Regions from separate parts of the Homo sapiens genome. Here region 2 is linked to region 1. Evidence: promoter capture Hi-C in human tissues and cell types (Jung and others, 2019). All regions are on one chromosome and are shown on one strand. The core of a region is centred on a gene start or on the middle of the fragment in contact, and the rest is flanking DNA. Distances in the headings are between cores, read along the strand shown.

What was found. The method cuts DNA at HindIII sites, captures the fragments that hold promoters and counts their contacts. A contact is called where the count stands out against the background at its distance.
Region 2: a fragment that was not itself captured here is called in contact with the fragment with the promoter of FGF18 in region 1 in 2 of the 25 tissues and cell types used here (heart left ventricle and liver).

Annotation. Positions count from the first base shown.
Region 1 is chr5:171,416,943-171,421,779 of GRCh38, forward strand. It overlaps FGF18 (fibroblast growth factor 18), which reads left to right and starts at 2,705. Exons shown (of 5, transcript NM_003862.3): 1 at 2,705-3,289; 2 at 3,465-3,501. The coding sequence starts at 3,258. RefSeq lists silencers at 2,542-2,651, 2,772-2,881, 3,022-3,071, 3,132-3,211. The HindIII fragment of the contact is 5,522 bases long and covers 423-4,837 here.
Region 2 is chr5:171,750,334-171,755,170 of GRCh38, forward strand. No RefSeq gene overlaps it. Among named protein-coding and RNA genes, the nearest start is that of SMIM23, 33 kb to the right of the region's middle. RefSeq lists an enhancer at 244-743. The HindIII fragment of the contact is 6,329 bases long and covers 1-4,837 here.

The sequences.
Region 1 (4,837 bases), core at 1,455-3,954:
CCCTGCCAGTCGCCTAGCCTTTTTCCACTGGAGGCACTTTGCATCTTTTACCTGGAATATTCCTTTGCATGGCTATCTACTGTCTTTGGGTCTTGGCCTTAATGTTACCAAGAGGTCTTCTGGCTTCTCTATCCCACTGGTTTCTCTCAAAACACTGGTAACAAGCCAGCATTTATCTCTTGGTGTATTTGCTTATTGCCCATCTTCCCTAGTGGAAACGAAGTGCTTTTTTAGTGCAGGGACCTTGCCTGTCTTTCAGTGAGGGCTCGACACTGTAGGATCTCAATAAATTGTGATTGAATTAGTAAGAAGTGACTACTAAAATAGTGGTATATATTAAGTGTTGTATGAACATGCCAAATCCAGATAGAACCCATTTAAGATTCAGGCATATGGTAAATAGGTCATGTTGGTAAATAGGTGCATGAAACTAGAGGGTGTGAGTGGTGGGGAAAAGAATGTGTAGTATAAAATGGATTTGGAGTCAAAAGACATTCTGACTAGATGCCTCTTCAACTGTAAATTGGAAATGATCCTGCCTCCCTACTTCATGAAATTGTTCAGAAAGAAATGTGAAAATAACCTGAAAGTAACCTGAATAATAATTAGGATTATTAGTTAGCAGCTAAAACGTTTGGAGTTTTCATTGTGTGCCAGACACTCATTGAGTACTCACAACTCTGTGAGAGTTGTTACTGTTCTTAGCCATATTTTGTAGAGGAGGAAGCAGAATCTCAAACCGTTGCTTGCTGGAATTTATAAGTAAATGTTGGTGGCAGTATTCAAATGCAGTACTTCTGACTCCTGAGTTTATGCTCTTACTCAGAACTGTTCTCTTGGCTGGACTTTTTGGTCAGTCTGATTTGTTTGGTAGGTGAGATTGGCAAATATACTTTGAGCATTGAAAAATACTGCAAGCATTTTAGATAGGGTATAAATAATTATATACCCATTCCATTCACAAGTAATAAAAAATAGTAACAATATAGAAAATTGGAAGCATGATTCTTAGCCAGGAGATACTTCAAACTAGCAGATGGTAAGCCAAAAACTCCTCGACTGGGTTTGTCAATCTTCCTATAAAGCAAGATCAAAGACGGCGGCAATGACTCGGGTCATCGGTGGGAGCATTTCTGTCCATTTCTATTTATGGTTGGTCATTGCATCCTATCTTGGGATCGATTCATTTTCTCCAGAACTTGGGAAGTTACGAGTAACTCTGCAAGTCCAGCTCTGGCAATCAGAATGTCTAAGTAAATTCAGCTTAAAAGCTTCATGCAGGAATTTTCCCCCTCAGCACCTGGTTTTGAAAAGGTTTTCTGCACTTGTGTCCGATGTTGAAACAGAGGCTATCTGTTTAAAATAGCCTCAGCTTTGAAAGGGAACTTAAAATAGCTTGCAAGGAGGCCTGATATTTGGAACAATTACTAATGTTTTATAGTCATGGCTTCAGCAAATAGCACTGTTCGACAGTCCTACCTCAGTTTATGCTCCAGTGGACCATCAACCATTGCCAACGCAAGGAGGCTTTAACCAAATAGTCCAGATTCCTGAGTTTTGCTTGAGCCTGTCCTCCAGCGTCTTTCTCACTGTGACCTATTTTCCTTAGCATCAGGCTCAAGCAGAGCTTGGCTGACACCAGCTCTAGACAGTGAGGCAGGTACGTGACAAGAACACCTACGTTTTGGGGTTGGTGGGAAGGACAGGAGTTATGCCTCTGGAAGGGGCAGAGGCGGTAAGAACCAGTGTCCTGAATGGGGCCCTGGTTAAAGGAACGAAGCTGCCTAGTATGCAAACGGAGGCAAGTCTTAGTCCGGTTTTGGGAGGAGGCCGGAAGAGGGCCTCAGCGTGGTCGCTGACCAGAGTCCTGCTGGCTGCTCCCCGGCGTGCAGCCGTCCGTGCTGGGGTTGCAGTGACGTCTCGGGGCCGCTTGGTGGTAGCCGTGTGTTTCCAAAGCTGGCTCGCCTACGGGAGAGTCCAGCTGGGATCCCGTGAACCGACCCCAGAGCCCCGGAGGGGGCGAGGGGTGGGAAGGAGAGATGCCCGGGAGCCCCCTTCGCAGCGGCAGGGACGTAAGAAGAGGACGGGGGCTCACTTAAGTGGGTAGCCAGTCAAGAGGGTGGCTGGGAAACTCCACGATCGCAGGGCGGGTAAAAGCGACCCCCATTCAGTGGAGCCGCCCCGGGGCTGGGTTTGACCCGCCCCTCTCGGCTCTCCACTAGAGCGCTGGTGAGTGAGTGCGAGTAGCGAATGTGGGCAGGTGAGGACGTTCCGTACCTAACTGCGTTCTTGGGGAGCATCGCCTGCCCAATTTGGGCAACGTTTGCGCGGAGGAGCGGTCACTGCGCTCGGGCGCAGAGCTCCGACGGCTTCCAGCGCTCACCAGCTTCAGTCTCGCGGGTCCTGCCCCTTTGGAGCTGCCGGTCCCGTCTCCGAGAGTCTGAGCGCCTCCCCTCCAACCCCGAGCCGCCAGGAGAAGGAGGAGGAGGCAGCGAGAGGCCGCGGCAGGCAGGCGAGCAGGCAGGGCCGCCTTTGATGTGGGCTGGGCGCACCCAGGCGAGCTGAGCGCCCGTCCGGCCGCGCCCCGAGGGGGGAGCCCCCAGGCCCCGCATCCTCATTGTGCCGGCTCGGGCCCGGGCCCGCCCCCGGCCCCCCGCCCCCTCGCCGCCCGCGCGTAGAAAACGCCCCGGCCGCCGCCAGTGGTGGGAGGCGGCGATGCGCACGGCCGGAGAGACGCGGAGGAGGAGACATGAGCCGGCGGGCGCCCAGACGGAGCGGCCGTGACGCTTTCGCGCTGCAGCCGCGCGCCCCGACCCCGGAGCGCTGACCCCTGGCCCCACGCAGCTCCGCGCCCGGGCCGGAGAGCGCAACTCGGCTTCCAGACCCGCCGCGCATGCTGTCCCCGGACTGAGCCGGGCAGCCAGCCTCCCACGGACGCCCGGACGGCCGGCCGGCCAGCAGTGAGCGAGCTTCCCCGCACCGGCCAGGCGCCTCCTGCACAGCGGCTGCCGCCCCGCAGCCCCTGCGCCAGCCCGGAGGGCGCAGCGCTCGGGAGGAGCCGCGCGGGGCGCTGATGCCGCAGGGCGCGCCGCGGAGCGCCCCGGAGCAGCAGAGTCTGCAGCAGCAGCAGCCGGCGAGGAGGGAGCAGCAGCAGCGGCGGCGGCGGCGGCGGCGGCGGCGGAGGCGCCCGGTCCCGGCCGCGCGGAGCGGACATGTGCAGGCTGGGCTAGGAGCCGCCGCCTCCCTCCCGCCCAGCGATGTATTCAGCGCCCTCCGCCTGCACTTGCCTGTAAGCGCCCGCGCGCGGGGCTGCCCACCTTGCCTGGCTGTCTGTCCGTATGCCTGTGCCCTGTACCTCTGTCTGCCCGCCCGTCGGTTCACCTGACTCTTCGACTGCGTGTCTGTCTGTCCGTGCGCCCCCTTCCTCAGGTCCCACTGACCGCTTCTCCATCTGTTTCCCGCAGGTGTTTACACTTCCTGCTGCTGTGCTTCCAGGTACAGGTACGTGGGCTCCTGACTTTGACCTCCTCCCGCCCCTGCCTCGCGGTACACGCCGACCCCCCTTCCCCGGCCGCGCCCCCTCCCTGTGCCCCACCCCTCCTGGGCGCTGAGCCCAGTGCACCTGTTCCCAGGGCGCGGAAGGGCGGCTCCGCGTGCGCCCTGCGCCGGCGGGGAACCGGCCAAGGGCAAGGGGCTCTGCCGCGGGGCCCGAGGAGGCGCTGGCTGTCGCGGCCACTGTCGGCCTCGGCTGGGAGGAGATCCCGCAGAGCCGGCGGGCTCAGCCGCAACAATATACCCAGCTCTAAGACCCCTGCCCGCAGCCAGCGAGGGGTAGGACCTAGGGATTTTCTCTGCCAACCTTCCCTTAACATCGCCGCTTCCAAACAAAAAGACTTTCAGCCGAGTGGATTTCGAGTCCAGGGAGAAAGCTTCAGTTGTAAATTACTCTGTGGTTTTGAAGGCGCTTGCAGCACTGAGACACACACACAGACACACACACATGCCCGGGACGAGGGGAAGCTCGAGGGCGCCTAGGCCGAGTGGCCGCTGCCCGCGAGGCCGCTCCCGGATGGGCCGCGCTCCGCACTCCCTCGCCTAAGGTGGTGCAGCCCTCGTTGGTTCCCCGCCTGCTCCCGGTTCGCTCGCTCTCCGTGAATCAGAAGAGGGCTTGGCGCTCGGCCTGGAAAGCACTTGCTAAAATCTGATCTGTTACTTCAGCAGCTTTCAGACTCGGGAAGGTCTTGGCACGCAGACAGTTGGAACGCTCTGGCTTCCAAAGCCGTAGAAATGAAGGAAAAAGGGTTGGGGGGAGGGAGAGAGAAGAGCGAAAAAGGGAGCCGACTTCAGCCCCGATTAGAACCAGACCAGGGCTGCCTCTGCATGGTGGGGGTCGGGGGGCGGCGGGCAAAGGGAATAGGAAGCGTCAGCTCCCCAAGCCCCCACCCACCTAGTGCTGCAAGGGGCCAGGCCAGGAGGAACTGGACACAGGTCAAAAGAGGGTTGTCTGACCCTTCCCCCTCGGTGGAAGGCAGGTGGCTTTCCGGGATTAGAGAAGATTCTTAGACCTTAGCCTTCTGGATTGTGGAGATCCCCAGAGCTAGCCTTGAGCACAGGAAATTGGTGGTTCTCCCGGTTTTCTGGCTCAAGGAGTGTTGTGTGCCTTGAGCACTGCGCGACTCAACAGCCACTCGCAGTGTTTGGCGGTGGTGGGCCTGCTATCTTCCTTCCACGCCCAGGAGAGGGTTGTTACCCTCCTGATAGGCACTGAGCTGGGGGCATCCATTGGGGCTTGGGGATGGAAGGGTGGACGGACTGATGGGTTCTTTCCTCCTGTTGG
Region 2 (4,837 bases), core at 1,419-3,918, 330 kb after region 1:
CCAGGCAGGGAACATGGATGTCCCAGCCCCCAGCCTCACCGCCACTAGAGGTCCTCCTAGCAGGGCCTGTGCCACCTTGGCAGCCCTCCCAGCAGATCCTGGGAGACACGAGACCCAGTGACTCTGACCATTCAGAGACTGGTCCTTCTCCAAAGAGACTGGAGAGGCAAGCGCCTTCGCTGGTGCCAAGAAGAAGGGCCAGGCAAGGGCCTCTCCCTGGGAGTCACTCTGCTTTGGGCAAAAAAATACGCTAAACAAGAACAAAGCCTGAGTCATTCCTTCTGTCTCCTAGGGCCCAGTGTCACACTCACTGCCAGGAGGGTTAGCCAAGGTTGGGGCTGCAGATGGCTGGGGTTAAATGCAGGAAGCTGGGACAATGCTGGCTGGAGCCACCTCCTAACCTTCCCTGCCCTACCCCCTCTGGTTCCCCTTCAGGCGCCCAGCCCTCCAGCCAAGTGGCTGACCCCTGGTTCTGCCTTCCTGCCTCCAGGCCTTTGCTCACAGCAGGCCCTTCCACTGGAAGGCGTGACCCCTGCTAATTCTACACATGCGGATCCTACCTATTAGGTGCCGCCAAGGAAGGCCCCTGAGTCCCCTCCACTAAGAGATAACATAGCATTTTGAAGGCATACGTTCCCCTTGGTTTCTAGTTACGACTGTTCATACATCACCCTTCCTAATGGACGATGACATTCCCAAGGGCAGGAGATGTCCCATTACTCTCTTAGCCATTGATGCCTAGTACAGGGCTGGGCCCACAGGAGATGGACAACTAGTAGAATAAATATGCCACCTCAGCCATGATCCCTCCTTCCTCTTAGCTTTCTCGTGAGCTCTTCCCTCTGCCTGGAACACCATTCCCACCACCCACCACCATGGTCCGTCTCCCCTTACTGGCTTAAGAGAGTCGCTTCCCTGAAGAGGCCTCCCCAGTTCCCTGGCCCAGGTAAGTGCCCTGCAATATGAACCAATAACAGCTGTGCATCTTTTTTTTCTTTTTTTCGTAGCTTTTGACACATTGCAATTAGGCACTCACCTAACCACCTTCTACTTAGGGAGTTTCCCTGCATTAAGAAACTCTCTCTAGTCTCTCCCTCTGGGTAACGTGAAACTGATGCCCAGAGCAGGCTGAGCACTCATGCCTGCCGAGCCTCAGTGCTCTTCATACTGGGCCCCCTTCCCAACCACATTCCCCTTCCCTTCGTCTTTTCTGGCAGAGCACATATCCCTATAAAGAGGCTGAAAATGCCAGTCACCTGCTTTCCCAGCCTCCCTCGCAGCTGGAACACAGACGTGTGACCAATCCTGGCCAATGAGACCAGAGGAGGAGCAGCTGGGGGCTTCTGGGAAAAGTTTCCTTTCCCTCTTTTTTGTTGGGTGAAATTGTGTCCACTTGTAACAACTGCTAGATGTGGAAGCCATTTTGCACCATGAGCGGAGACACTCCTAATTCTCAGAAGATCGCAGAAAGAAGTCTATGGAAAATACCTGTGACCTTGAGGAGGCTGCTGAGCTACTGCAGCATCTCAAGGGCTTCTCCGTCTCTAGACATCTTCCTACATAAAATAATAAATGTCCTATTGGGTTAAGCTGGTGTTTTTCACACTGTGGGTTGCACTCCATTAATGAGACATGAGATTATATTAGTGGGTCATGATTAGCATTTCTAATAGAATTAAAATAGGAAAGAATAGACAAAAATATTAGGTAGCATCACATAAAGTAAAGGTAAGTGCTGCTTGTGAAAATTTGCTTCAGTTTATACTCTTGCATATGTGCTAAGGGACAATTTAAAATGCGTTTTTTTACTATGCACTGAGAGTTTTTTGAAAGCAAAGCTTAAAACTTGTTTCAGTTAAAGATTCTGTTCCTTGCAGACAAATGCATTATGTCCCATAGAGGTATCCTTCAGCAACCCCAAAAACTTCCACTCTCACCATGTGAGTTGTTTACTGACCAAGAGACCATTGCATTTGCTGTCTAAATCATTTATGGCAGATGTATTCAGTACTGTCATTACATAACTTAATTAAATATTATGCCAACGAATGAAATAAGAGCATTAAAGAAACATTGCTGTTTCTAAGTTGACCACTTTGGAAAGAATCAATAAAGGCAAGTCTCAGAAAACATATCTGTTGGATGGAGGTGAGGAGAAAACTCCAAACAACTGGCAACAAGAGCCACAAAATTCTAGAAAGATTATGCACTTGTATTAATTCATACATATTTTGTTTCACTTTAAAGAAAAAAGATACAGAACTTTATTCTGCAAAGTCAGACGCCACAAAAGACTCTTTCCTACATCACACTATTGGTGACTGAATGTATATGTGAATATTTTCAGTAAAAATAAACTGTGTAAAAGTCATATAGGTATTGTTCTTATAATTTCTTATTGTAACAAAGTTTTTTTTTGATTGACTGCCTACCTTTCCATATCATATTTCACATGGAGCTCTGTGCACAATTGTATGATGTCTCTATTCTACAATTGATTGTAAACTCCACAAGAGCAGAAAACATGACCATCTTGTTCATCACTTTATACTCTGGCACAGTACTGGGTACATAGAAGATTCTTAATAGATATTATTCAAGTGTATAATTAACAAAAGAAATGAACAAGAAAACCCATTAAGTATTACCTCACTTTACTCTCAAAAAAGCCTTGTCAAGTGTGGCAATTCCTCAAGGATCTAGAACTAGAAATACCATTTGACCCAGCCATCCCATTACTGGGTATATACCCAAAGGATTACAAATCATGCTGCTATAAAGACACATGCACACGTATGTTTATTGCGGCACTATTCACAATAGCAAAGACTTGGAACTAACCCAAATGTCCATCAATGATAGACTGGAAAGCATAATAATAATAATAATAAAAAGAAAGTAAAAGAACTCACAAAATTAAGCATACAATCCCCACCGCAAAAAGTGTTGGAATAGGTATATTAATATTAGACAAAGCAGGTTTTAAAAAACATGTATTATAAAAGACTAGAGAAATATTTCATAATAGTAAAAGGGTAAATTCAGCAGGATAGACATATGTCAATAATAATAAATGAATCTGATTGCATAACTTCAAAAAAAAAAAGAAAATGTGGCACATATACACCATGGGATACTATGCAGCCATAAAAAAGGATGAGTTCATGTCCTTTGTAGGGACATGGATGAAGCTGAAAACCATCATTCTCAGCAAACTATCACAAGGACAAAAAACCAAACACTGCATGTTCTCACTCATAGGTGGGAATTGAACAATGAGAATACTTGGACACAGGAGGGGGAACATCACACACCGGGGCCTGTCGTGGGGTAGAGGGAGGGGGGAGGGATAGCACTGGGAGATATACCTAATGTAAATGTAAACAAACCTGCACATTGTGCACATGTACCCTGGAACTTAAAGTATAATAATAAAAAAAAAACCTTGTCAAATAGAGAGGAGTTTTATATTTGTATCTTAAAACTGGAGAGGAATTAGTTGTGGTTCAGAAAAGCAAACTGACGTCAGTCACACTACTAGTACCAAGAACCCACCACCCACTACCCACTACCCGTAAAGCCAAGCCCCCAGAATTCTTAGCTCATGGAATTATTCTGCTGCAAGAAGGTTATGACATGAGGCCATGACATTACCAAAGATTCCTTACTGCATTTTCACTCCCAGGGCTATGATTTTGAAATTCCTTTGGAATTCTGCAGAGAATTCTGAGTTTTGTGAGTTTAATTAACATTTTGAGTGTTATTGGTGAAGTTTTATCAGAGAATCGCTTTTTTTTTTTTTTTTTTTACATGTAAGTCTACAGCCAGAGGCCAGTATTTGGATCCCCAGAGAATGTTTCCAATTTTATGGTAGGAATTGATGGGAAAAGATTATTTTTTACAGAAATTCACCTGACAGCAGAATTTCCTGGGTCACATCTCTTCAGTTAAGTAGAAGATTCCTGATTCTGAACAGTCAAACAATTTAATACCAACTGTCAACTAGCATTGAAGATTTTTATGTCCTTAGTTCAGCTTTGTGCTTGACCTTTCTTGTGCACCTCCCTTTTTTATTCTGGGACATTAATGGTTGTTTATAAAAGAAAACATATAATAAAATTGTAAAATCTGTTTATTCATGTATATATGCTCAAAAATGTGTCAAGGCATGAGGAAGTCTTCTAGGGTACGGGACAAATTCTATGTCTTGACCTGGGTATTGGTTACCCAGGGTATACATTAAAAGACCATTGAGCCACTTAAGATCCATATGCTTTACTGTATGTAAGACGCACCTAAATAAAAAGATTTTTTAAAATGTGTCTGGCTTTAATCTTACAGAGAGCCAAAACTTGATAGATGTAACTAGTACATCCTACAGTAAATCAGTTCAAACCTACAAACATTTATTAAGGGCTTACTATGTACAAGGCACTGTGCTGGACCATGAATAGGACAGAATGTAATGATGATACTAATTATAAATGATTCTTGATACACGATGAGCCCTCAAGAGATGTTGTGGAATAAAAGAATGACTTAATTAATCACTAGCACAGGTAGAGGGGCTAATTTTATTTTATTTTTTTTTTTATTTATTTTTGAGACAGAGTCTTGCTCTGTTGCCCAGGCTAGAGGGCAGTGGTATGATCTTAGCTCACTGCAACCTCCACCTCCTGGGTTCAAGTGATTCTCTTGCCTCAGCCTCACTAGTAGCTGAGATTACAGGCATGCACTACCATGCCCAGATAACTTCTGTATTTTTAGTAAAAATGGTGTTTTACCATGTTGGCCAGGCTGGTCTCAAACTCCTGACCTCAAGTGATCCACCCACCCC